Linked DNA regions of Homo sapiens: all the other regions are linked to region 1. The links are contacts of gene promoters, found by promoter capture Hi-C in blood cells and fetal thymus (Javierre and others, 2016). All regions are on one chromosome and are shown on one strand. The core of a region is centred on a gene start or on the middle of the fragment in contact, and the rest is flanking DNA. Distances in the headings are between cores, read along the strand shown.

What was found. The method cuts DNA at HindIII sites, captures the fragments that hold promoters and counts their contacts. A CHiCAGO score of 5 or more calls a contact.
Region 2: a fragment that was not itself captured here is called in contact with the fragment with the promoter of DCAF11 in region 1 in 1 of 17 cell types (M0 macrophages); the score reaches 5.6 in M0 macrophages.
Region 3: a contact is called between the fragment with the promoter of BCL2L2 here and the fragment with the promoter of DCAF11 in region 1, in 1 of 17 cell types (M2 macrophages). The highest score is 5.8, in M2 macrophages.
Region 4: a fragment that was not itself captured here is called in contact with the fragment with the promoter of DCAF11 in region 1 in 3 of 17 cell types (monocytes, non-activated CD4 T cells and naive CD8 T cells); the score reaches 5.4 in monocytes.
Region 5: a contact is called between a fragment that was not itself captured here and the fragment with the promoter of DCAF11 in region 1, in 2 of 17 cell types (megakaryocytes and erythroblasts). The highest score is 6.5, in megakaryocytes.
Region 6: a fragment that was not itself captured here is called in contact with the fragment with the promoter of DCAF11 in region 1 in 1 of 17 cell types (megakaryocytes); the score reaches 5.6 in megakaryocytes.
Region 7: a fragment that was not itself captured here is called in contact with the fragment with the promoter of DCAF11 in region 1 in 1 of 17 cell types (total CD4 T cells); the score reaches 5.3 in total CD4 T cells.

The regions. Positions count from the first base shown.
Region 1 is chr14:24,113,403-24,117,186 of GRCh38, reverse strand. It overlaps DCAF11 (DDB1 and CUL4 associated factor 11), which reads right to left and starts at 2,410. Exons shown (of 15, transcript NM_025230.5): 1 at 1,894-2,410; 2 at 1,438-1,805; 3 at 143-270. The coding sequence starts at 1,592. NRL (neural retina leucine zipper) reads left to right here and starts at 2,238. Exons shown (of 3, transcript NM_001354768.3): 1 at 2,238-2,465. RefSeq lists enhancers at 2,331-2,480, 2,721-2,860, 2,442-3,157. The HindIII fragment of the contact is 1,852 bases long and covers 1,151-3,002 here.
Region 2 is chr14:23,161,923-23,165,706 of GRCh38, reverse strand. SLC7A8 (solute carrier family 7 member 8) reads left to right here. Exons shown (of 11, transcript NM_012244.4): 3 at 271-422. Among named protein-coding and RNA genes, the nearest start is that of SLC7A8, 20 kb to the left of the region's middle. The HindIII fragment of the contact is 1,337 bases long and covers 1,866-3,202 here.
Region 3 is chr14:23,305,123-23,308,906 of GRCh38, reverse strand. It overlaps BCL2L2 (BCL2 like 2), which reads right to left and starts at 2,074. Exons shown (of 4, transcript NM_004050.5): 1 at 2,013-2,074; 2 at 1,628-1,715; 3 at 708-1,147; 4 at 1-91. The coding sequence starts at 1,139. BCL2L2-PABPN1 (BCL2L2-PABPN1 readthrough) reads right to left here and starts at 2,074. Exons shown (of 8, transcript NM_001387346.1): 1 at 2,013-2,074; 2 at 1,628-1,715; 3 at 708-1,147. The coding sequence starts at 1,139. RefSeq lists an enhancer at 382-1,215. The HindIII fragment of the contact is 2,126 bases long and covers 702-2,827 here.
Region 4 is chr14:23,326,288-23,330,071 of GRCh38, reverse strand. No RefSeq gene overlaps it. Among named protein-coding and RNA genes, the nearest start is that of PABPN1, 6.7 kb to the right of the region's middle. RefSeq lists a silencer at 1,790-1,879. The HindIII fragment of the contact is 1,983 bases long and covers 1,091-3,073 here.
Region 5 is chr14:23,451,398-23,455,181 of GRCh38, reverse strand. No RefSeq gene overlaps it. Among named protein-coding and RNA genes, the nearest start is that of NGDN, 16 kb to the left of the region's middle. The HindIII fragment of the contact is 2,522 bases long and covers 464-2,985 here.
Region 6 is chr14:23,481,305-23,485,088 of GRCh38, reverse strand. No RefSeq gene overlaps it. Among named protein-coding and RNA genes, the nearest start is that of NGDN, 13 kb to the right of the region's middle. RefSeq lists enhancers at 1,504-2,260, 2,261-3,018. The HindIII fragment of the contact is 5,436 bases long and covers 1-3,784 here.
Region 7 is chr14:23,594,453-23,598,236 of GRCh38, reverse strand. No RefSeq gene overlaps it. Among named protein-coding and RNA genes, the nearest start is that of JPH4, 18 kb to the right of the region's middle. The HindIII fragment of the contact is 6,973 bases long and covers 1-3,784 here.

The DNA.
Region 1 (3,784 bases), core at 1,161-3,660:
CCTGTGGCTGAATATACTGGGGCTGTAAGGACTCCTTATTCCTTAAATTATCGTACCTTCTTTCAATGTAACCTATCATTCAAAATATCACTAAAAGGTTTTCTAGTAAAAGTCTTCCAACATTAGGGGCTTTTCCTCTTACCAGGTGGGTTGTATCGATCCCCAAGACGACCATCCCAAGCTCTGTCATTCTCTTCCTCTGAGTCCAAGAGGGCCTGAATGAATTGTAAATTTGCTGCACCTCCTCCCTGCACCAACCTCACTTGGCCTCTGTGGAGAGACCCCCATTATAAAGGAGGGGACTTCTTCCCCCAAACCAACCAAATTCAGAGTCAATGGCTATCTAGCTCTTAGACCACTTGGTACTCATTTTGAGGTTTGAGGCTGACTAGACCTTGGCTGTTATTTTTGGTCTCCTATAAAACACAGTAGGAAAGAGAGTTTTACTCTTACAGCAAGAGCAAGACCAACATGCTGTGGACGTGACCTACTAAGTTGACCTCCCAGCGAGCTAAACATTCTAACATCATTTCCTTAGAACAAGAGCAAGACCAATACGCTGTGGACATGACCTACTAAGTTGACCTCCCAACAAGCTAAACATCCTCACAGCATTTCCTTCTGAGCCTCTGCCTGAGAAGTCCACCACAGAAGACAATATTCTAAGCTGGGTGCGGTGGTGTGTGCAACTGTAGTCTTAGCTACCTGGGAGGCAAGGATTGCTTGAGCCCAGGAGTTGCAGGCTGTGGTGTGCACTTGATCACACCTGTGAATAGCCCGTTCTCCAGACTGGGGAACACAGTGAGCCCTGTCTATGTCTACTAAAAACAACACAAAACACAAACAAAAAAGAATACAATATTCTGAAGGGACCCCCAAACCCATCTTCTCCTCAAAGAGCCATAAGCAAAGAAAGAAAGCCAGCTGCACCCTTTTCCAGTCAATTCCAGGTGGTCTCTCCCTTCAAGGCATTCTTTCCTCAAGAACAGGTTAGAGTCAGGGCAAATTAAACTTGTTTTTCAAGTAAATCGAAGTGGCCTCATATCATGTGTCAACTGCCTTACTAAAAAGTTCAACACTCCCTTCCCATCTCTTCACCCCTTACATCACTCCTTTCCCACTAGGACCCCCCCCTTTTTTTTTTCAAGCTTACTTGGAAAATAGACTATATTTGTGTAGTCACAGAGACAGGCTCCCTTGAATAGCCCCTCAAACACATGAGCAGGTCCTCTTGGTGACCCTCCCTAGGTAAGAACCACTCTTACTGGGTATGGAGCTGAGTGCCATGGGTGCCCAGCAGGGAAAGGCTGTTCAGCTCAAACAGAACAGCTGTCCTGAGCGAATCCCATTTCCTAACCTCTGTAATTTTCCTGCCTGGAGTTGGGATCAAGGCACTGTGGTAGCACCTGCTGGGGGTCACACCAGAGGGTAAGTTACCTGCGGAGGAGATAGGCCAGTACCTGGGCCAGATCCACATCTTCATCCTCTTCTTCCTCTTCCTCACTCCGACGCAGGCCAGCCCCTCTTCGGGGCAAGCCCTCGGAGGGGTCTCCGGACCCGGATCCTGCACTGCTGCTGTTCCGCGATCCCATCTTCTGGTCACAGCATTCTTAGGTCCTGTGCGGGGGCTCCTCCTGTCACCTCCTTGGGTTTGGTGAAAGCAAAGCGTGCTCTAGAAATACCAGGGTCTCCTGAGACGGGGTAGTAGCTATCTCTAGGAGGGTGACCCTTCCTCGGGGCTGAGATCCCTTTTCTTTAGCCTATGCCAACTACCAAGGCGTCGGGAACACAAACCTTCTCCAATCCTGTGAAGCAAAGAAAGCAAGAGTGAACCGTAGTGCGCTACCCTAGCTCACCAACTGAAGAAAGATTTGTTTTCTACACCAAACTCACCTATCGAAGTCCCCGGACTGGGGAGCGGGAGGGGTGTTGGGCGGTGTTGGATTTCCAGGTAACCTCTCTGACCGACCAATCGAAATCCCTCTCGGAAGAAAGCGCTTCACTAGCTTATCTCATCTAACCAATTAGAAGCCTTAGGACTCAAAGACCCTCGACGCCCCCACCTTATCGACCAATCAGAGCGCCCCCTTACAAAGGCCGGCAGCAGTGACAGCCAATGAAAATAGAATTTGGCCTAACACCCCTCCTTCCTCGCCTCACGCCCACGTGGTGCGCCGGGGGTGTGTACGCCATGAGGGGGAGGAAGCCGAGAAGCACCTCCCACTGAAGCCGGCGGTAACCGCCCCACGCGAGACCACCCACCAGCCAGGAGCGGTCGCAGGACCCGCAGCGGCGCGAGGCCTTGTTTACACCGACTGCCGCCACTGCGTTGGCCAACCGCTCCTCCGTCACGCGCTTCGCTCGTCACGCATCTCGCGGCTTCCTGGCCGGCGGGCTGCAAACGTCACACGACGGCCCCGCCCCCTTGGCCAGCCAACTGGACAGCGGAGCACGATGATTGATAGGTAGGCGGGAGAATGCGCGAGGTGCCTGAGGGGAGGAGAAAGTGCACACCCAAGGAGGGCTGTTAGCTCTTGCTGGGGAGGAGTAAGTGGGAACTGCCAGCTTCCTGAATCAGAGACAGCCGAACTAGGCGTAACGGCTGAGAGGCGGGGCTTAAAAAAGAAACGTTTGGTGGTTCGCTACCGAGAGGTATTTTAGCAAGGGATATAATTTACTGTCTGTCCCTAAAGATCATTTGGCATCGCACTTTTCAGACAGTGCCCAAGGGCCTCCTTTCTCCCCACTGCTTCCCCTGTCCAGCTGGAGCCGTTCTTCTGTCGCTGGCCGCAGCTCCAGTCGGTTCTGCCCTAAGGGGTGCCCAGCGTCCCAGTAGACCTCCATACCGTCCTTCCGGGCTTAGCTTTTGGAAGCCTTGCTCTTGGGACGGTCCCCTTTTAGACCTCCCTTTATCCGGTCTGACAATTTTTTAAGACAATCCCTGGCTTTCCGCCGCGGTCTTTGCAGACGTTCCCTAATACACGCGTCTTTCTGTCAAAGCTTTTCCGGTTCCGCTGTCCCCTTTGACGCTCCCTTGGCCCTCCGGGATTTGCAGACCTTCGCTAGTCCCTCTGTCCTCGCGGTGCCTCTCCGCCCCCGGCCGCGGGTCCAGGGTGCGCGCTCGCCGCCTCCTGCCCCCTCCTGCCCCCTCCTGCGGGTTTATGAGTAACAAGCCTGAGTCCAAGGCCGGGAGTTGCCACATCTCTGATCCTCGCCCTGGCTGGGTGGGGACGTGTGGGTTGAATGACCTTGCTGTCTCGGGCTCAGAGGCTCAGGGTCCGAGCTGAACTTCATTCCCTGCAGCCTGCACTTCCTTGGGAAAGCTGCGAGCTTCCCTCCGCCCGCTCCTGAGGGCAGGGATGGGAGCGAGGGCTCGTGGCCTTCTTGGGCCCTCCTGGGGCCTCTCCCAGTGAGGGCGAGGGTTTGGCCAGCTTTCGGGCGACGTCTCCTAGTCTCTAGATCCGGAGACCTGAGCTTGTCACCAGGGCTAGCTTTGATGGCCTCTGCGCTTAGAAGGGTCCTGAATGTTTGGTTTAATGTTCTAGTGTTAACGGTCTTGAAATTATTAGTAATTTTAAAGCAAGTGCCTGGTATTTTCATCTTGCACTCGGCTCCACTGATTATGTAGGCGGTCTGCTGGGCGCCCATCCTCTATTGCCAGATTACTTACTATCTGTGCTTTAACGTTTATTGAGACTTTAGGATTCCGTGGTTTCTGGGTTATCCAGCCTGGAAAATCGGGATCTTTATTTATTGATTGATTTTACCTGCGTTCTCCCAGAAT
Region 2 (3,784 bases), core at 1,285-3,784, 950 kb after region 1:
GGCCACAGTGATGGAGAAGAGATCATGAAAGGAGAGGAGAGAAAGGAAGAACGCCAAGACTTGTGTTAGTGCTTGTGGAAATTTAACTCTTCATTAAACCATTTTATTGTCACTGCAGAGGGCTGGGTGTCTCATTTGTGGGTGGGGGCAGAGGCTGGGCTCTTCAGCATCCTTGAAAATAAAAAAGAGATGCATGACTTGCCCGGGCTCTCCCCTGATGGCTCTGCGTCCCTGCCATGCCTTTCGGCGGATGTCCCTTTCCTCCTTCAGGTTCCTGAGGCTGTGGATTGCTGTGCTGGTGATCTACCCCACCAACCAGGCTGTCATCGCCCTCACCTTCTCCAACTACGTGCTGCAGCCGCTCTTCCCCACCTGCTTCCCCCCAGAGTCTGGCCTTCGGCTCCTGGCTGCCATCTGCTTATGTAAGTGTCATCTGGGTCTTGGTAGCAAGACAGCCTCTTTTATTATATTTATTATTATTATTTTTAGAAACAGAGTCTTCACTCTGTCACTCAGGCTGGAGCGCAGCCGCATGATCATAGCTCACTGCAGCCTTGAACTCCTGGGCTCAAGTGATCCTCCTGCCTCGGCCTCCCAAAGTGTTGTGGTTACAGGTGTGAGCCACTGCACCCAGTCTGAGGGACAGCCTCTTTTATCCTCCCTGGAGGTCTACATGTCTCTGACTCTCCTAACTTCTCTCCATTTTTTTTTTTTTGAGGCAGGGTCTCACTCTGTCACCCAGGCTGGAGTGCAGTGGCGTGATCTCCACTCACTGCAACCTCCATCTCCCAGATTCAAGTGATTCTCCCACCTCAGACTCCCGAGTTGCTGGGATTGCAGGCGTGAGCCACCATGCCCGGCTAATTTTTGTATTTTTTGTAGAGATGGGGTTTCACCCTGTTGGCCAGGCTGGTTTTGAACTCCTGACCTCAAGTGATCCGCCCGCCTTGGCCTCCCAAAGTGCTGGGATTACAGGCCTGACCCACCTCACCCTGCCTCCTTTTCTTTTCCCCATTACTTTTCTTTCAATTTCCTACAAGTGTGTTTTTTATGAATGGATTCTGCATACAATTGTCTGGTGTTAAAAAAAAAAAAAGAAAGAAACTTAAGTAGCTCCTTGGAGGCACTATGATTTTCACTGGCAGGGTTCTTGACATTACGCAAAGCACTTTCACCTATATTATCTGATTTGGGCCTAATGACAAGTCCATGAGGTAAGCTGGGCCAGTGTTAACATTTTCCCAGAACAGATAAGGAAACAGAGAGCCAGGCAAATGACTTGCCCAGGGAGGCAGGCCACGTGGAGTGCAAGGGCTCCTGATTTCTTGTCTGTCCAGTGCACTGCACTGTGCTGGCTACTCCCAGCTGCTCCTAGGAAGATTACTCTGGCTTCTTGGCAGTAGGTCCACATCTACTTCTACCTCAACTTGTCAAGTCACACTCTTTTAACTCTCTTGGAGAAGGGTTTGTCCATGATCCCTGCCCTTGATGAGTTTTCTAACTAGGAGAAAAGCCATATAGACAGATACTGTGGTTAGGATTCAATTGCAGTAAAAATTCAGAGAAGGGAGCTAGGCATGGTGGTGTACACCTGTAGTTCCAGCTACCTGGGAGGCTGAGGTAGGAGGGTCGATTGACCCTGGGAGTTCTGGGCCACAGTGAGCTATGATTACACCTATGAATAGCCACTGCACTCCAGCCTGGGCAACATAGTGAGATCCTGTCTCTAAAAAAAAAAAAGAAATTAAAAACAACAATAACAATAAAATTCAGAGAAGGGGAAAAGATCTCTGTGGGCTGGAATAGGTTAGAGAGGCTTCCTAGAGAAGTTCTGCAGAGCCGTATTTCTAGGAAGTCTCAAAGCTTTATCTCTGATATTAGTCATCTCAATGGATTGGGGTATTTTACATCTTTAATCAAAAACTAATTTCTAAAGTAAATACTTAGATATGTTTCAGGGGCTCCACCTCTAGGGTTCACTGGGTCCCTGCCTTCCCATAGCTTCTAACACACATACACTTAGCTGAGGGCAGTGATCATCCTGGCCATATGCTTTCCCAGGTCCTGACACTTTTCCTTCTGTCCTGTTACGGGATGGGGGAGGAAGAGATCACTCACCCACCTCAGTAGCCTCTTACAGGGCAGGCAGCTGGGACCCAAGAGGCGGTCTCCTTGGCAAGTGAGCCCTCTTTGGCAGTGCTGGTCAACCCTGGGACAGACCTCCACCACCCAGGCCATTTGCAATATGGGGCCAAGACATTTGTTTGGGGGTGTATTCCTTGTGTTTGATCAGGCCTGCTCACAGATCTGGAGGCAGAGGAATGCAGGCTCCAAAACCAGGCTGCCTGCGCCTGCATCTCCAGTCCACCATTTCTAACTGCAGTGGTGAGTGCTGGGCAAAATCACTCGTCCACCCTACTGTGAGATGGGGAGTGTAATCCTAGCTGCCTCAAGAGGTCGTGGTCACAAGGACTGCAAGAGAGAAGGAAGGGGACACCCTCAGCACAGTGTTAGACACCCAGCACCCCAGTCATATCAGTCACTGGGGGTGGGCAAGATGCTGGGGCCACTTTATCCTTGCATCCTAGCTGGATCCAGAGTTGAGATGGGGAGCGGGGAAGAGCGAGGGCGTGGGAATGCAGGAAGAGTGCTGTTTCTGCCATCAGATCAGCTAATGGGAGGGTGGGAGGCAAGGCCACAGAAGTGCTAGCTACTGCTGTTTTGGTGTTTCTTTGCACACAGACAGCTTCCTTTTTCCTGCTGATGCTGCTAAAGTGTCTCAGACAAGAGGCCACCCTTACCCTTCTACTAGAAATCAAGAACCCCCGAGGCTGTTCAGTTTGCACCCTAGGAGAGGAGCCAGGCCACAGGTTGAAGAAGTTCCCAGGCAGCCAGACCCCATGGCTTTCTTTGCATTCCCCAAATCTGCCAAGGGTTTGACCTCTTGCACAAAGACCCTCCAAAGTAGTGTAGCCTTTTTGGCGTCCCCTCGGACCAGAAAGGTCCAAACTCTCCTAGGAGATAAGAACGCCACCTGCCTGTAGCCCTGCTCCAGAATGACATGTTGCACAGTCCTCTCCACAGCCTTCCCCTCACCTAGACACTGCAAGGACCAAGCCAAGGAGAAATTTAGAAACTGGCTGATGACAAAAATGACAAGACCCCCCTCCTCTATTCCTGTAGTCAAAGATTCAATAAAGCTTATCTAAGTTTGGCCTCTGCCTTCTCAGCAGAACTGCAAGGAAATTATCTCCAACTTAACAGTAGCCAATCTTGTCCTCTAAAGACAGGAATTTTCAATGTCCTTGAAATATGGGTTCAAATATTTGTCTACCTTCATAAGCAGAAAAATCTTAAATCCTTCTTATTCCCAAGCGTAGTCTTCCTTATTTCCTTTAGGGGAAATGGAAACCAGCTCCACACCTGTCCCGCTGCAGTGTCCCTTTCCTCCTAGCTGTGAAGGCCATGTGGAGCTGCCATCCCTCTGCCCGGCAGGGTGCACACGTACATGCATTAGCTATAACAAACTTCCTCTCTCCCTTTCCTTATACCTGACACTCCCAGCTGCTTTGAGTCTGTGTACAGAGGTTCTGTTTTCCGGTTTGTTGAATACTTTTTTTTTTTAATCCACTTCTATAGGCCCCTCAAATCCTCTCTTCTTTTTTTGAATTTTATGGCAGGCCATACCAGATAAGCATCCAATCCTCTCATACGGTATTCAGTAAAACAAGAACCAAGCTGTCAGGAAGGCTTGGTAGATGCTTTTTTTTTTTTTTTTTTTAGA
Region 3 (3,784 bases), core at 825-3,324, 810 kb after region 1:
TCAGCACTGTCCTCACTGATGCCCAGTTCCCCTCCCGCAGACGCCGCGCCTCCTCCAGGGCCCCGTCCCCGTATAGAGCTGTGAACTCCGCCTGTGGGAGAGAAGGGAAGCAGGAGAGAAAGAAGGAGAAAGGGATATCAGGAGAGGAAAGAGTGGAGAGAAGAGGAGAGGAAGAGTTCCAGTTCCATCCACTGCGAGCACTACCCCATACCCAGCTCCTCTCTGGCCAAAGCTCTTCTCCCTGCAAGCCCCTCTGATCCCCCCAGGTGCACCCCCACCCTGAGAGACTGGTTCATCTGCCCACTCTGCCTCCAGTGAATTCCATCCTTTCCTTGGCGAAAAATTCTGCTCAGAACTAGCATCCTTTGCCAAGGCTTGCCTGACCACCACCCATCCCTGGTCCTCCCCACCTCCCACGCCATGACTCAGATGTAAAAAGTCCCTGACAACATTCCCCTGCAGGCACTCCTTGGGTGTGTATTCTGTCCTCTGCTTGGGACCATGAGCCCATCCAGTGTTGACTGCATGGCAGCCCTGGAGTGCAGAGTCCAGGCATCTCTCAATCTAATTCCATCCAGACGGGGAGACTCAGCCCCGTACCTCATTCCCAACATAGCTGCCTCAGCCTCCAATCAGAGCCCCCATCTTCCCCCTGGAGACCAGCTTTGCAGAAGGATGTGCAGAGCGGCAATTGAGAAGCTTCTTACCCAGCCCCCACTGCTGTGGATCCAGTCAGCCAGCTGCGTCTCCAGGTAGGCCACCATCCACTCCTGCACTTGTCCCACCAGTGGTTCCATCTCCTTGTTGACACTCTCAGCACACAGTGCAGCCCCAAAGACAAAGAAGGCTACAAGGCGGCCCCAGTTGGGGCCCCCTTGAAAAAGTTCATCGGAGACCTGGGTGAAGCGTTGTTGGGCTGAGCCTGGGGTCACATGCAGCTGAGCCGCCAGATCAGAGAAGGTGCGCCGGAAGCGGGTCTCGAACTCATCTCCAGCTGCCCGCATGGCTTGGTGCAGCGGGTCAGCTGCTGGGCCCTCCCCGGGGCCAGCTCCACAGACATAACCCTTCTGCCTCAGCTTATAACCTACAAAGTCTGCCACCAGAGCCCGTGTGTCTGGGGCCGAGGCTGGGGTCGCCATCCGGGCGGCTATAAGAGGCAAGGATGAAAGACTGGCATGAATATATGAAGAGAGAATCAGAAGGAGCACTTCTGGTTTGACCAACCCAGTGAGATGAGGAGGAGAGAGGAAATGCTCAGGACTCACTGGACAGGGAGAGGCAAGAACAAGGGAATTAAGTCATGATATGAGACTAGGCTGTGAGTGGCTGGCCATTACATTCCTAATATGCCAAATTAAATGTAAAACAAGTAAATTTTCTGTTTAGGATACTTTAGATTCTTTTCACAATAAGACAACGTCAGCTCAATGACACCCCTACAACACCCCCACCCCCGGGTCTCCTTAGTCCACACCTTCTTGGCTAGAGGAAGGGTCTTAGGACCTCCCCAAATGCAAGATGTAAAGATGTTGGCAGAGACACAAGATGAGGGGGAGCAGATGGGCTGAAGAGAAAGGTGGGAGACGCAATGGGTTACTCCAGACAGAGAAAGGAAGGAGACACTCACCCAGCCGGGATGGCAGCTCTTAAGACACAGCACTGGTGGCAAGGAGCCCCCAGCTGGGGCCTTTCATCCTCCTGGCCAGCGTGGAGCCCTGGAAAGGGGAGGGGGAGATCAGAACCAGGAGGGGAAGGCCAGGGATCAGGTTCTGGCCTGGGAAGGGCTAGGGTTGCAGCTCTGGGCCTAGGCCCCTGCCCCCAACGCTCTACCAGCTGTGTGGCCGAATCCATGTTTAATGACTGTCCTCCCGGGAAACCCAAGGCCAAGGGCTTCCTGCCGACACCATCTCTATTCCCGGTTCCCCCTAGTGCAGCCCAAAGGCCCAGCTCCTCCCTTACCCCCACCTCAGCCAGTCTCCAACCCCGCCCGCCTGCCAGGTTAGGGATCTCACGGGTCAGGCCGCTGCCGGGATCCGGGCCGTTTCCTGGTGCAGGAGCTGGGAGGGAGGGAGAGAGGGAGGAAGGGAGGGAAGGAAGGAGGGAGGAGAAAGGGGGGGGCAGAGGGAGGGCCCGGCGCCGGGTGATGATGGGGCCCAGAGATGCGTCCAGAGAGAGGGGCGGGGCTGGGACGCAGGCCTGCAAAGGGCCACTACTCAGGAAGAGGGAGGGCTGCTGAAGGCAAAGAAGGGCTGGCTGAGAGGGCACGGTGGGCTGGGCTGGGCTGGGCTCCTGAGCCTCTAGGCTGCCCAGAGAAATATGCCGGACTTCGGGACATCTCGGGGCAAATTTAGCATTTTCAGGAGGTTTCCGATGTTCCATGCACTTGTTGAACTTTTCCAGCCCTGAACTGTGTGCCTGGAAAACAGGAGCAGTTCCCATTAAGCTGGGAACCGTCTACCAGGTGCCTTACCCTTATGGGGCTAGCAGACACCACATAGACACCAAACCTTTCCCATCTTTTCTCCAGGACCTTTAACCCAGTGTTCTCTTTGTGGGCTGGGCTTCAGCCAGGCATTAGGGAGCCAGGACTTGGATCACAAGCAGTTTCTCTCGGTACTTTTCTTTAATTCATCTTCTTTTGTAATTAGATTGATTTTAGTGGGGTTTTTTTCTTTTTCTTTTTTTTACCCAACACACAAACTCATTCTCATTATGAAAAAAATCAAACAATAAAGACGTGCGGAGTAATAAAATACAGGTTCTCAAACACACACACACATACACACCCAATTCCACTTCCCTCCCTGCAGGTTGCCAGTGTTAAGCTTGATGTTTATCCTTCCAGATTACATATATATGGGGCCATTATTTATACATGGCAGTATATTTATACAGGGCAGGTCACAGGCGTGAAGCAGTCTGACCATAGCTGATCCACATGAGGGCACTCACAGCCAGCCCCCTGGGCTCTTGGATCTGGCACTTTTTTAAAGAGTGCCCCAACCAAAGGCCAGAAAGAGGCAACCTAATTCTCCTATTCTGCTAGCTCCCTTTGCTTCTACCTCCAATCCAAGCCTCTGTATTACCATCTTCCCTTATGGTCACTGGAGAAGCAAGGTCTTTTCTGCAGCAATAACAGTAACAACTAGCTGGGTTCGGTGGCTCATACCTGTAATCCCAACACTTTGGGAGGCCAAGGCGGGTGGATCACTTGAGGCCAGGAGTTCGAGACCAGCCTGACCAACATGGCAAAACCCCATCTCTACTAAAAATACAAAAATTAGCCAGACGTAAAATACAAAAATTAGCCAGCCTGTAATCCCAGCTGCTCAGGAGGCTGAGGCATGAGAATCACTTGAACCCAGGAGGCTGAGATCATGCCACTGCACTCCAGACTGGGTGATAGAACGAGACTCTATCTCAAAAAAAAAAAAAGGTAAAAACTAACATATTTTGAGGAGTTATTAGATGCTGTGCTTTTTTTACATGTGTATTTTTTCCTCTCACCAGTCCTTATGCTGTTTTATCCTCATTCTATGAATGAGGAAATTGAGGTTTGGAGAGGTTAAGTGATTTTCCCAAAGCCATAGGCTGATATGTAAGAAGCTAGCACAGCCATCTCATGCTGTAACTTTGACACTATCGCTTCAAGATCACCTCTTGCCTTCACATAGTCAATATGGTTCTCATAGTCTGAATCCACACCATTTACAAGTCCATACTCAATTCTCTCCTCTATTCTAAACACACAGCCTATTACACTCCTTTATGGCTGTATCCTTTC
Region 4 (3,784 bases), core at 833-3,332, 790 kb after region 1:
TTTTGCATCATCCAAAGGCCCTCTAAGGATCTCTGACTCACAGACCCTCACCCCAGACAGGTTTTATACACAGGCTCTCCCAGTCTCTTTCTTCCCATGGAACTCCAGTGAGATTGGGCTCATTTCTATCCCTCAGTTAACAGAGAGCCGATCAGGAGTGACTGACAGAAATCATCCACCAAAAATAACCAAGCTTGCCCGAGGAAAGTAACTTTCTTTCCATGCTTCTTCCTCTAAACCTAGTCTCTTTTAAGTAAAATAGTCTGACTCTTATAAGAATAAAACTAAAGGCCGGGCATGGTGGCTCACGCTTGTAATCCCAGCACTTTGGGAGGCCGAGGTGGGTTAACCACGAGATCAGGAGATCGAGACCAGCCTGACCAACATGTTGAAACCCCGTCTCTACTAAAAATACAAAAAATTAGCCAGGCATGTGGCGCATGCCTGTAATCCTAGCTACTCAGGAGGCTGAGGCAGGAGAATTGCTTGAACCTGGGAGGTGGAGGTTGCAGTGAGCTGAGATGGCACCACTGCACTCCAGCTTGGGCGACAGAGTGAAACTCCGTCTCAGGAAAAAAAAAAAAAAAGAGGAAGAAAACTACCAGCTCCAGGTAAAAGGCAACACTATTGTTGTTACCGCCTTCTCCAGGACAGGAAAGGCAAGCCCAGGGTGAATAAGCAACTTTTGGGCACCTACTAAATGGCAGGCCCTGTGAGGCAGACACAAAGTCACAATTGATGCCCTCAAGAAGCTTGCATTCGGCCGGGCGCGGTGGCTCACGCCTGTAATCCCAGCACTTTGGGAGGCCGAGGCGGGTGGATCATGAGGTCAGGAGATCGAGACCATCCTGGCTAACAAGGTGAAACCCCGTCTCTACTAAAAATACAAAAAATTAGCCGGGCGCGGTGGCGGGCGCCTGTAGTCCCAGCTACTCGGGAGGCTGAGGCAGGAGAATGGCGTGAACCCGGGAAGCGGAGCTTGCAGTGAGCCGAGATCCCGCCACTGCAGTCCGCAGGCCAGCCTGGGCGACAGAGCGAGACTCCGTCTCAAAAAAAAAAAAAAAAAAAAAAAAAAAAAAAAGAAGAAGCTTGCATTCTAGTGGGAAAACAGAAATGTAGTTAGTTTCATTATAAAACCACAAAGTAAATATTAAACAGGGATAGGAACAGTTTGTCCTGACTGCAGGAGTGATTACTTCTGACTTGGAAATCAGGAAAGGCTTCATGTCTGTTGTACCTGGCTTACACTTGGAAGGATATGCGTGATTTTCATAGAAGAGTTGGAATGAGCATAGCAGGCTAGAGGGAACAGCATGAGGGATACATGAAAATAAATAACAACTACAATGCATAGTACATCAGGTGTAGGGCAGGATCTGGAAGAGAAATGTAATCAGGATCAGATTGAAAAAGGTTGTAGTTCCATGCTTGTGTTTGGACTTTGTACTTATTGGTGGCATCATAGAGGGCTTTTTTTGGCAATAAGAAGTTTGGAGGCTGAGCATGGTAGCTTACGCCTATAAACCTAGCACTTTGGGAGGCCGAGGCAGGAGGATTGCTTGAGGCCAAGAGTTCAAGATCAACTTGGCCAACATAGCGAGACCCTATCTTTTAAAGTACTTTTTTTAGGAATTTTTATTTTTCAAAAAAAAATTTGAAGCCAATACATCTGCCAGGACCCCTGCAATGATGATGGGGAGTTACTCAAGCAGTGAAAGTAGGAATAGAGAGAACAGACAAGATATGGTAGAATTGACTGAATATGGAAAACTAAACCAGAGAAGGGTCAAAACATGATTCACCCTCCAATACCCAACAATTTATGGGGATCTTTTAGAGCCAGCCATTTAGTGCCCCCTGGTGGACAGATGAGACCATCACAGCATTAACAGCAACAAGTCACTTAGGCTGTTTCATTCTTCCAGTAAAAAGTTTATATTGAACACTATCCAGACCCTCACTAATCAGCCTCTGCAGAAGCCACAGAGATCACGGCACTATTTTAGGTGAATCTAGTTAGGAGAAAAGATAGACCTCAAATGCCTAACCCATAACAGAAAGTAGAATAAATGACCAAATCCTAAAATATGTGGTGGATAACACTGACATGAGATTTTAGAAAATACTGCAATTTGAGAGGTGGGTTAAGGCTTCAGATATAACAGAGTTTTTTGTTTTGTTTGTTTTGAGACAGAGTCTCGCTCTGTCACCCAGGCTGGAAGTGCAGTGGCTGAGTCTCAGCTCACCTCAATCTCCACCTCCTATGTTCAAACGATTCTCCTGCCTTAGCCTCCAGAGTAGCTGGGACTACAGGTGCATGCCACCACACCTGGCTAATTTTTGTATTTTTAGTAGAGACGGGATTTCACCATGTTGGCCAGGCTGGTCTCAAACTCCTGACCTCAAGTGATCCGCCCACCTCTGCCTCCCAAAGTGCTGAGACTGCAGGTGTGAGCCACTGCGCCCGGCCACAGAGCCATTTCTTTAACATATGATTTTTGAAGAGCATCCAGGTCAGAGGCAATTGTGAACAAAACATCCTGAGAAGTAAATGAAAAAATAGTAAGGTTGAAATACTAAGAAATTCTATAGGTAATGAAGTCTGAAGGTTCAACCTGGCTAGTGATGTAGTGTTCAAGTTTTAAGACCAATCTGACACTGGAATAAAAAATGGAGAAATTAGGATGCCCAAGACAAAATTTAGATATGAAAACAGTGAAAGCCAGTTGTGAAGTCCTAATAAACTAATCCTGGCCAGGAGCTGTGGCTCACGCCTATAGGAAGGCCAAGCCAGGAGGACTGCTTGAGCTCAGGAGTTTGGGACAGCCTGGGCAACACAGCAAAACTGTCTCTACAAAAAATTAGCCAAGTGTGAAGGCAGGCACCTATAGTCACAGCTATGTAGGACACTGAGGTGGGAGGATCACTTGAGCCCGGGAGGTTGAGGCTGCAGTGAGCCACTGCACTCCAGCCTGGGTGACAAAGCAAGACCATCTCAAAAAAATAAATGATCCAATTAATATAAGTTAGCTGGACACATTAAATGGTTACTGCATGGTTGGAAAAACAAGCTTTCCGATTGTCTCTTAGCTAAGTGTATTTTGTCTTCTGCATTTCTTGGGCCCACCTTGAGGTAGAAAAGGTAGCTGGGTGCAGTGGTTCACACTTGTAATCCCAATACTTTGGGAGGCTAAGATGGGAAGATTGCTTGGTCAACATAGCGAGACCCCAAAGACAAGGTTACCCAGACCCCAATCCAAAGCTCTAGGGCTGCAGGCATGGATAGTTCATTTGCACGTAAGCTGTATCAGGAGCACACAAAAGCGCCATTAGGTCAGTAATTCGGCTATTCCTTTTTTTATTTTGAGACAGTTTCACTCTGTCACCCAGGCTGGAGTGCAGTGGTGTGAACTTGGCTCACTGCAAGCTCCACCTCCTGGGTTCACGCCATTCTCCTGGCTCAGCCTCCCGAGTAGCTGGGACCACAGGCACCCGCCACCTCGTCAGGCTAATTTTCTGTATTTTTAGTAGAGGTGGGGTTTCGCCATGTTAGCCAAGATGGTCTTGATCTCCTGACCTCGTGATCTGCCCACCTCAGCCTCCCAAAGTCCTGGGATTGTAGCAGTGAGCCACCATGCCCGGCCCAATTCAGCTATTCTTTTACTTTCCCAGGCTTATTTCTCTCTCAAATGCCAATCAGGGTTACATGTTATCCAGAAAACCTATCATTCTCAACTAAACACATAATGTTCCTGCTAGTTGTAATGTAATTCCTACTCCTTAA
Region 5 (3,784 bases), core at 475-2,974, 660 kb after region 1:
TTGTAATTGTCCCACAGTTCTTGAATATAGTTACTTTTCTTTTTGCATTTCAGTTTGGGAAGTTTCCATTGACATATCTTCAAGCTCATTGAATATTTCCTCAGCCATGTCCAGTCTACTAATCCATCAAGGCATTCTTCTTTTTGGTCAGTGTTTTTGACTCTAACGTTTCCTTTTGATTCTTTCCTAAAGTTCTCATCTCTCTGCTTTACATTACCCATCTGTTCTTGAATATTATCCACTTTTTTTCCATTAGAGTCCTTAGCATATTAATCATAGTTAATTTAAATTTCCACTCCAATAATGTATTAATCATGTTTTTTAATTTTCTGTATTTTATGAGGTTTTGACATCTTAGGGGCCTGCTAATCCTGGAAAGACTGCCTCTTCCAGAGCTAACTAATTTCTAGAGGCAGTAAACAACTTGCCCATGAGCATCCAGCAAACCAACCAATCCAAAGCTTGTATCCCTAACCACCTCCTTTATCTAACTCTTGCACACCAAGCCAGTACTTCCCCTGCCCTAATTAATCCCAGGGCCAGAGACCAGACAACTAGAGATCACTGCTGTAACACAGAGCCTGCTGAAATTGTCCAGACTTGTCAAAGCTAAGCTATTTACCTTGCCCTGCCTTCCTTTCCTGTGGGAAACACAATAAAGGCTTGTGTCCATGCTTTTCTCTCTCTGTCTACCTCCTGACTGAACCGGATGCTTCTCCATCTGGCCCTGTGTGGCATGAGTTGTCCCCTCCCCTTAAGAACTGTAATAAGCTCTTCTTTCAAGGCAGTTGTCTCCATGTTTGTCATTTTACCATACTTGATTGAAACAAAATCTTCAGTACATTTTAAAACAGATAATACCAAAATCTCTGCCACATCTGAGTCTAGTTCTGATGCTGGCTATGTCTCTTTGGATTGTATTTTTTCTTGTCTTTTAGCACGCCTTGTAATTTTTTGCTGAAAGCAGACATGGTAATAGGAATTGAGGTAGACTGTGTGTGAAGTTTTATTTTTATTTTTATCTGACCAGGAGTTAGACTGTGTTTAGTTTGCTGCAGCAGTAGGTGTCAAAGATTTTAATTTCTTCTAAAGTCCTTGTGTTTGCCTCCTCTGTTGTCTTTGAGTTTCCTTAGAAACTCCTTCGTAAATAGAATCTAAGCCTTGCAGCCCTGTCAGCTATAATCCACTTTTACTATTCAGGAGTCCTGTTGATGTGGTAGCAAGATACTGGGTAGGAGAGCATTCTATAGTCCCATGATTGGAGCTCAGTATTTTAGTGGACCTGTGACTCTAGACTGTAACCTTCATAATTGCTTCTTAGGGTATTTTTTTGTTTTGTTTTGTTTTGTACCTCATATGTGAGATAAGAAGTCCAGAATGAATTGTTTCTTAGGGTATTTTTTTGTTTTGTTTTGTTTTTTACCTCATATGTGAGACAGGAAGTCCAGAATGTGATGGAGCTAGATAATTTCCCTTTCCCCAAGTAAAAGAAGACATCGGCAAAGGCTTTCCCCCTGCTGGATAGGCCTTAGTTGTGGAGAAAGCTCTGGTTTTATTTCTAAATGGTCACTTTACCCTCGCCCTGCCAAACATAAGGATATTTCTCTCCATTCTTCATCATGAGAACCTGGTGGGAGGTAAAACTCATGAAAGTGTGGGTTCTCCCCTTAGACTGGGGTCCCAGGAGTTTTTAACTCTCAAGCTAATTCACGCTCAGCCTCTGGCAATTCATCGAAGTTACCATTTAGGTGTTCCTGTCAGTTACTGGTTCCAGCACCTCCTGCTTCAGGTAAGCTGGCTTGTATTCTCCGTATTCACCCGTCTCTCCAGTTTTCAGGGTGATAGTTTGTCCTGTAGCCAAAATTCTCTGATAGAACTAAGAAAAGTTGTAGGTTTTCAGTTCAGCTTTCTTCTTGCTTTGAGAATGAGAGTGACCGACTTATAATCTCTTTACATGTTGGAGTGTTCACAATCAGAAGTGTTCCCACTAGATTCTATGTTAGTAACATGCCTTCGTTTTAAACTAAAACATTTTGTACATACTTATTTTTCAACTATAAAAATGTTATATTTATTAAATTAAAATAATAAGTATTTCAATTTAATTACCAATTATGACTCTATATAGGTATCACTATAACCATGCTGTCTATATCAAATATTCAAATAAACACATTATAATGTTAAATTAGTGTGAGAAAAACGCACTGGAGCAAATCAATCTATTGACAACAACTAGTTTGGTGATGTTTGTGTATACACTAGAAACAACACATATTCTTGATATGTTACTATAATACGACAATATCTTATGTTGATCGTTGAAGTAAAACAATCCTACCAAAACAACAAAGCTGTGTTTTACCGAAAGTATTTTACACTGCTTTAGTTTTTTAAGAGCTTTATTGCGGTATAATTTACATAGCATAAAATTCACCCCTTTTATACAATTCAATTATTTTTAAGGAAAATTTACATTTGTGCAAGCATCACCACAATCCAATTTAGAGCATTCCCAATGCTCCAAAGGGATCCCTTACACCCATTTGCAGTCCATTGCCATTTCCACCACCAGCTTCAGGCAGCCACTGCCTTCTGTCTTCATAGATTTTCCTTTTCTGGACATTTCATAGAAATGGAATCATAAAATATGTGGCCTTTTCATCTGGATTCTTTCATTTAGCATGTTTTTGAGGTTAATCCATGTTACATTAATAACATGTATCAGTACTCATTCCTTTTTATTGCTGAATAATATTCCATTGTATGGATGTACCACATTTTGTTTATCTGTTCACCTAATGATAAACATTGGGATTATTTCCACTTTTTGGATATTATGAATAATATCCAAGCGTTTATGAACAAACGCTTGTTTGAACTTGTTTATATAAGTCTTTGTGTGGATATATACTTTCTTTTCTATTGAGTAAATACCCAAAAGTGGATGGCTGAGTTATTTGGTACATGTATGTCAGTTAAGCTTTTAAGAAAAGTTCAAACTGTTTTCCAAAGTAGCTGTTGCATTTTACGTTCTCACCAGCAATGTTGGAGAGTTTTGGTTTCTCCACATCCTAGCCACAATTTATTATTGCCTTTCTTTTTTATTATAGTCACACTCATGGGTATGAAGTGCTATCTCATTGAGGTTTTAATTAGAATTTCTATAATGATTGATGATGTTGAGCATATTTTGTGTGCTTGTTATACATTTGCATATCTTTGTTGAAATATCTATAAATCTTTTCTTTCTTTAACCTTGCTAATTAGCTGACTTTAAGTCTATAAATCTTTTGACTATTTTAAAATTTTCTTGTATTATTATTGAGTTGTACTTGTTCTTTATCTATTCTTAACACAAGTCCTTTATTAGAAATATGATTTGCAAGTATTTTCTTCCAGTCTGTGGCTTAGATTTTAATTTTCTTTTTAAAATTTTAATCTTCTTAATGACATCTTTTGAAGCACAAAATCTTTCAACTTTGATGAAGTCCAACTTACAATTTTGTCTTTTGTGGATTATGCTTTTGGTATTGTATGTAAGAACTTGTTTCCTAACCAAAGACTTTTCCTACGTTTTCTTCCAAAAATTGTAAGTTTTAGATCTTACATGTAAGTCTCTGAACTGTTTTAAGTTATTTTTGTGTATAGTGTGGGGTGTGGTCTAAATGTATCTTTTTGCATGTGTGTATCCAGCACCATTTCCTCAAAGAATTGTTTTGGAATCTTTGTTGAAAATAAATTGATCTCCCTTCATTTTAAATTTTAACTAAATGAAAAATTC
Region 6 (3,784 bases), core at 674-3,173, 630 kb after region 1:
CACTGCAACAAATATTTATTGGATCTTGCTTTTTAAAAGAGGGACCTAAACAGAGATCACTGTCTACATTACATGAAACCATGACCCTAACTACAGTCCCCTGAATACAGCAAGAAAGATCTCTAAGAAAGGAAACAGGAAAATCAGCTGAGGAAATGAAGAGGCCACCAGCCTCTGCCTCCACCAACTCATGTATGCACCTTAGGAAGGCAGGAGAGGTAGGCAAGAAGACAGGGCTCCACAGGCACTTCCATGGCCCAGACAGTAAGGTGAGGGGTTGGTGTTCTAGTCCCTGCTTTTCACTGTGGCTCTGGCAAACTCTGCCTCTCCCCATAGTCCAGGAGTCAGTCTTGACTTACACATGCTGAGGAAATGGAAGCCAGCCATTCTAGGACTGCCACTTAAGCTAAGGAAGATCTCCTCCCACCAGGGAATCAAGGAAAGAGGTCCATATTGTGGCCTATTCCTAGTATATACAGAAGTCAGACTCAGCACTACCATCCAGGGAGTAACTGGATGCTACTAATTCATAAAGAATAATCCAATAAGAGAAAAATTAGCCATCCTAGAAATTGGATAACTTTACAATAAAAAACACTGCTGAATTAGCTGGTTGTGGGGTACTGGTCTCACAATGAAAGGTCTCCAAAATAAAGTTAAGAAGCGAGATGAGGCAAGAGCTAACAGTCTAAAGAGTTTGGGCATATTCTGGAAAGGCTAAGCAATACAGGGCACTGTGGGCTGAATGGGGCAACCAGGTAAATTCAGCTGTGATAAAGGAACAACATGGAATGACAAAAAAAGGAGGCAGACTACAAGAGTGAGCCAAGGTCCTGCAGCCAGAATTGTGCTCAGCAGTGACCAGAGAGCCAGGATGTCCATCACATAAGTGTCACAACTGTCCTGGAAAGAACCTTCTGAGGACACAAAAGATCAGTAACAGGACATCTCCTCCAGTCTTCAAAACACAGGATAACGAAAGTAGAGGTATCCTTAGCAATCTAATCCAAAAGTTTCTGGATGAGCCATTATTATCTGAATTCTTGCTATTCCCTAGCTCCCATTTTCCCAGCATGTAGAACCCAAATCTGTAGATTCAGATAACACAGGATCGATCGCTTGCCAAGTGAACTCTCCTTATCCAAATCCAGGAACTGAATAGATGCAGACAGCAAAGGATATCTTCTGTCTCCCATCATGTTTCCCCTGTAGAGCCTCGTCATTCTCCCACCTACTCTTCGGTACTGACCCCTCAGTTCTCCTCACCCTGTTCTCTTCTAAGCCACCCTCATCTACAGCCCCCTTTCATTGGGAGAGTCATCTGTAAGATGTCAGGGGTAGAACAGATAACGAAAAAGGGAGTAGGGAAGAGTGTAGATTTCAGGTAGGGAAGTGAGATGGAGATCCTGCAGACAGAGAAAGAGAGAGACAGAAAGCAAGAGAGCCGGAGCTGGGGGAGGGGAAGAAGATGGCACTGCGGAAAAAAGAGCGCCACAAAATTAATTTGAGGAAGGGAACAGTAGAGGAGACGTTGGTGGAATAACAATCAGGCAGTAGAGGGCTGGGGAAAGGGGGAGGGCGACAGGGTGGGGAGGAATGATGTTGGCCGGGAGGGCCCTGCCTGCAGAGCAACAGCAGCACCACCTATGGGTATGGTGAAGGGCTACAGGCTGCAACAAAAGAGGTTCCCGCCTAGGCATGGGAGTCTGGGGTGCAGGTGGGGAGGAAGAAGCCATGGCTTTTGCCATTCAAATCTCTTGGTTACACAACATGCAGGCTAGAAGAATAAATAGTATATGGCTTTCCTGGGAAGAGAGGGACTTAAGGTAAGGGAGGGAAGACAGAGAACTCCTGGCTTTTTCCATTACAAGGGGGTTTCCCCTTCAGAATTCAGGCAGTAGAAAAGAGAAGAATATGAAGAGGGAGGAACACCAGGTACTGAAAGGAATGTGAGCACCTGCTTATTTCATTACCTGGAGAAAGGATTTTTATCTTTATTTCCAAGTGATTTCCTCTCCCCACTGGATATAAGAGAATACAGCTGCCTCCCTGGGGCCATGAATGCCCCTCACTCAGCTGCTTCCTCCCAGCACTGCCTCAAAACTCCCAACCACCATTAGAAACCCCCAGGGAGCCACCAAGGTCTAAGAAGGAAAGAAGGGAAGGGTTCCCCCCACCAAACAGACCAAGTGGGGGAGGACAGGGTGGAATGAAAGAGAGAATGCAAAAGCTCTGCAGAGGGAGGGGAGAGAGAAATGTGATCAGTAGTATTTGTTGTGCTTCCAGGGAGGAAGGATCTGTCACATTTTTAATAATAATAAATACATGAAGACAGATTTGCCAGCACTGCTCTGGCTTCTTGGGAAGTGTGGGGGAGGGGAAGTAATGCAGCTGCAGCACACACCAATATCTCCCCCTCCCCTCCCCCATTAGATAGGCTCAGTATTGCAGCAGCCTCCCCCTCCCCCTCTAACCGCAGTCCTCCCCTTCACAGCCCACCCTTTCCACGGTCCCGTCACACAGTTCTGCCCCTCCTTCCCCTACTTGTATCTCTACTCACTCCAACCCCACTCTGTCCTTTCAGTGCTGGTCCTCATTTAACACATGCTTACTCTAGCTGGAAGAAACCTTAGCACCTACATCTTAGATGAATGAATCTGTTCCCCCAATCCTGAGGCTCTGCTGTTTCCAATCAGTGCCCTTCACTAGCTGACAGCAATCTTCCCCTACACCCCACACAACACTCCCACAGATGTAATCCAGCACATTTCAGCATTTCCTGGATTCCACCAAAAAGGATTGCTTTTCTCCCCGTTTTAATCTCAATGTGACCTCCTTTCTCACATCCTTCCTTAAATATAATGGCCATCAAATGTGTTTGTGTTTAGGGGGTGTCAGGGCCTCAGGACTCAGTGACTACTGCCACCTATTGACCCAAGTTTGTTCACGATAGACCTTTAATACACTTCTTACACAGCGACGCTCTGTCATCTCAAAAGCATCAATAGCTTAAACATGCAAAGGCATGGCTCTGGGGGCTTCTCTGAGACCCTCTGAACAATGAGATCAAAGAAACACAAAAGCAAGACTGGGCAGAGAGCCAGAGCATTGATGCCTTTCCTCATGCAGAGGCAGAAAACGAGGCCCAAGGAATGAAAAAGCAACTTTAAGTCCCCTCAAGGTTCTCTAAGCAAAGATGAGTAGGGAACAGAGTTTTTCTTAAGGGCTGGTAAAAATTTCATGTATCATAATATAAATGATAAATGATGTTACCAATGGAGCAGGAGGCAGGATTCCACTCACATACCTCCATCAAGTTAGCCAAATCCTTGGCATGAATCTGGGATTTATGGACCTAAAAGATTCCAGGGAGGATGGGGGACACTCAGGGGTGTGTTTGACTCTCATCCAATCTGTACCAATCAGAACTGGAGACTGGACAAACTGGGCTCTGAAAAAGGGCAGGTCTACACCACGCAGCTCTATGGTTTAGCTGTGTCCCATTCACCAAACCAAGGAATGAGGAGCGTTTGAACTCTCCATGGTGCTGAAAATTGACACACTAATAATCTCCCCTGCAAACAAAACACAGTTTTCCTAATAAGGTATCTATGAAGACTGTTGTGAATTCCCAATAGACATTTCCCCAAGCCTTCATAAAATCCTAACAAAACAATGATTTTAAGGCAAAGACAGACCTTGGTCAAACTCTCTTCCCTGTCCCCTAAGATGAAAAGAATGAGGCAGAGATGTAAATTACTTCTACAGAATAAAGCTATCACAT
Region 7 (3,784 bases), core at 683-3,182, 520 kb after region 1:
ATCACTTAACCACAACGGAAGACAGTAAGAAAGCAAGAAGAGAGGAGTTATAAAACAAACAGAAAGCAAGCAACAAAATGGTAGTGGTAAGTCCTTACTTAATAATAAAGCTGAATGTAAATGGACTCAGTTATCCAATTAAAAGGCATACAGTGGCTGAATGGATAAAGAAAAAGATCCAACTATATGCTTCCACAAGAAACCCACTTCACCAATAAAGCCATAGACTGAAAGTGAAAGTGTGGAAAAGAATATTCCATGCAACTGGAAACCAAAAAAGGGCAGGAGTAGCTACAATCATATCAGATAAAAGAGACTACAAATCAAAGACTGTTTAAAAAGATAAAGAGGGTCACTATATAGTGATAAAGGGGTCAGTTCAGCAAGAGAATATAACAATTATAAATATCAGGTCGAATGCAGTAGCTCACGCCTGTAATCTCAGCACTTTGGGAGGCCGAGGTGGGCAGATAACTTGAGGTCAGGAGTTCGAGACCAGCCTGGCCAACATGGTGAAACTCCGTCTCTACTAAAAATACAAAATTAGTTGGATGTGGTGGCGTATGCCTGTAATCCCAGCTACTCGTGGGGCTGAGGCAGGAGAATCACTTGAATCCAGGAGGCAGAGGTTGCAGTGAGCCAAGGTCACGCCATTGCACTCCAGCCTGGGCAACAAGTGTGAAACTCCGCCTCAAAAAAAAAAAATGATAAATATCTATGCACCCACCAGTGGAGCTCCCCCAGGTATATAAAGCAAACATTAATAGATCTGAAAGGACAGATAGACTTCAATACAAAAATAGTAGGGGACTTCAACATCTCATTCTCAGTAAGGGACAGATCATCCAGACAGGAAATGAACAAAGAAATATCAGAATTAAACTATACACTAGATCAAATAGACCTAACTGACATTTAAAGAACATTTTGGCCAGGTGCAGTGGCTCACATCTGTAATACCAACACTTTGGGAAGCTGAAGCAGGAGGTTCACTTGAGCGCAGGAGTTCAAGACTAGCGTGAGCAACACAGCAAGACCCTATCTCTACAAAATATTTTTTAAAGAACATTTTACCCAACTGCTGCAGAATACACATTATTTTGACCAGTACATGAAACATTCTCCAAGATAGACCATACCTTATGTCACAAAACAAGTCTTAACAAACTCAAAACAGTAGAAATCGTATCAAATATCCTTTCTGACCACAATGGAATAAAACTAGAAATCAATAACAAGAGGAACCTCAGAAAATACACAAACACAAAGAAATTAAACATGCTCCTAAACAGTCAATGGTCAGTGAAGAAATTAAGAAAGACATTTAAAAATTCTTGAAACAAATGCAAATGGAAATACAATATACCAAAATCTATGGGACACAGCAAATGCAGTGCTAAGAGGGAATTTTATAGCAAAAAACACCAATATCAAAAAGTAGAAAGACTTGGCCAGGGATGATGACTCATACCCCTAATCTCAGCACTTCGAGAGGCTGAGGCAGGAGGATCACCTGAGGCCAGGAGTTTGAGACCAGCCTGGGCAACATAGCAAGACCACATCTCTACAAAAACTAAAAAAATTAGTTGGGTATGGTGGTGCGCACCTATAGTTCTTAGGAGGCTGAGACAGGAGGATTTCTTGAGTCCAGAAATCTGAGGCTGCAGTGAGCTATGGCCATGCCACTTCACTCCAGCCTGGGTGACAGAGCAAGACCCTGTCTCAAAAAAAAAAAAAATATATATATATATATATATATAAAGACTTGAAATAAATAACATAATGATACACTTCAAGGAACTAGAAAAGCAGGAACAAATCAAACCCAAAATTAATAGAAGGAAAGAAATAGTAAAGATCAGAGTGAGCCGGGCGTGGTGGCTCACGCCTGTAATCCCAGCACTTTGGGAGGCCAAGGCAGGTGGATCACGAGGTCAGGAGTTCAAGACCAGCCTGGCCAATATGGTAAAACCCCATCTCTACTAAAAATACAAAAATTAGCCGGGTGTGGTGGCACGTTCCTGTAGTTCCGGCTGTTAGGGAGGCTGAGGCAGGAGAATTGCTTGAACCCAGGAGGCGGAGGTTGCAGTGAGCTGAGATCACGCCACCACTGCACTCCAGCCTGAGTGACAGAGCAAGACTCTGTCTCAAAAAGAAAGAAAGAAAGAAAGAAAATCAGAGTGGAAATAAAAGAATTGAGACTAAAAAACAATATAGAAGATTGACAAAGTTAAAAGTTGATTTTTTGAAAAAATAAATAAAATCAACAAACCTTTAGCTAGACTAAGAAAAAAAGAAGTAAGACCCAAACAAATAAAATCAGAAATAAAAAAGGATACATAACAACTGAGACCCTAGGACTACAAAGAATTAGCCAGGTGCAGTGGCTCATGCCTATAATCCCAGTACTTTGGGAGGCTGAGGTGGGAGGATTGCTACAGCTCAGGAGTTTGAGACCAGCCTGGGCAACATGGCAAGACTCTATAACTACAAAAAATGTAAAAATTAGCCATGTGTGGTGGCATGGACCTATAGTCCCAACTACTCAGGAGGCTCAGGCAAGAGGATGGCTTGAGCCAGGGAGGTTGAGGCTGCCGTGAGCCATAATTGCACCGCTGCACACTAGTGTGGGCTACAGAGAGAGACTCTGTCTCAAAACAAAACAACAAAAAAAAAAGACTACAAAGAATCATTAGAGACTATTATGAACAACTATTAATACACACCAACAAATTGACAAATCTAGAGGAAATGGATAAATTCTCGGACACATAGAATCTAGAATCTACCAAGATTGAACCATGAAGAAGTAGAAAATATTGACAAACCAATAACAAGTTGGAGATGAAAGCCATAATAAAAAGTTTCCTGTCAAAGAAAAGCCCAAGATCCAATGGCTTCACTGCTGAATTCTACTAAATGTTTAAAGAATTATTACCAATTCTACTAAAACTCTTCAAAACAATTGACAAGAAGGGAATACTTCCAAACTCATTCTATGAGATTAGTATTACCCTGATATCAAAATCAAACAAGGACATAACTAAAAAGGAAAACTACAGGCCAATACCACTGGTGAACATAGATGCAAAAGTCCTCAGTGAAATACTAGCAAACTGAATTCAACAACACACTTAAAAAATCATTTCCCATGATCAAGCGGGGTTCATCTCAAGGATACAAGGATGGCTCAATGTACCCAAATTGATAAATGCGATACATCAATTAACAGAACCAAGAACAAAAACCATGTGATCATTTCAATAGATGCTGAAAAAGTATTTGATAAAATTCAACATCCCTTTATGATCTAAAAAAAAAAAAAAACCCTCAACAGGCCAGGCAAGATGGCTCACCCCTGTAATCCTAGCACTTTAGGAGGCCCACGCCAGCAGATCGCTTGAGCTCACGAGTTCGAGACCAGCTTGGGCAACACAGAGAAACCCCATCTACATAAAATACAAAAAAAGTTAGCCAGGCATGGTGGTGAACACGCACCTGTAATCCCAGCTACTCAGGAGACTGAGATGGGAGGATGACTTGAACCTGGGAGGCTGAGGTTGCAGTGAGCCCACTACACTCCAGCCTGGGCAATAGAAACAGACCTTGTCTCAAAAAATAAACAAACAAACAAACTCAACATACTGGATATAGAGAAAACACACTTCAGAATAATAAAGATCATGTATGACAAACCCACAGTTAACATGCTACTGAGTAGGGGGAAATTGAAAGCCTCTTTTTTTTTTTGAGACAGAGTCACCCAGGCTGGAGTGTGCAGTGG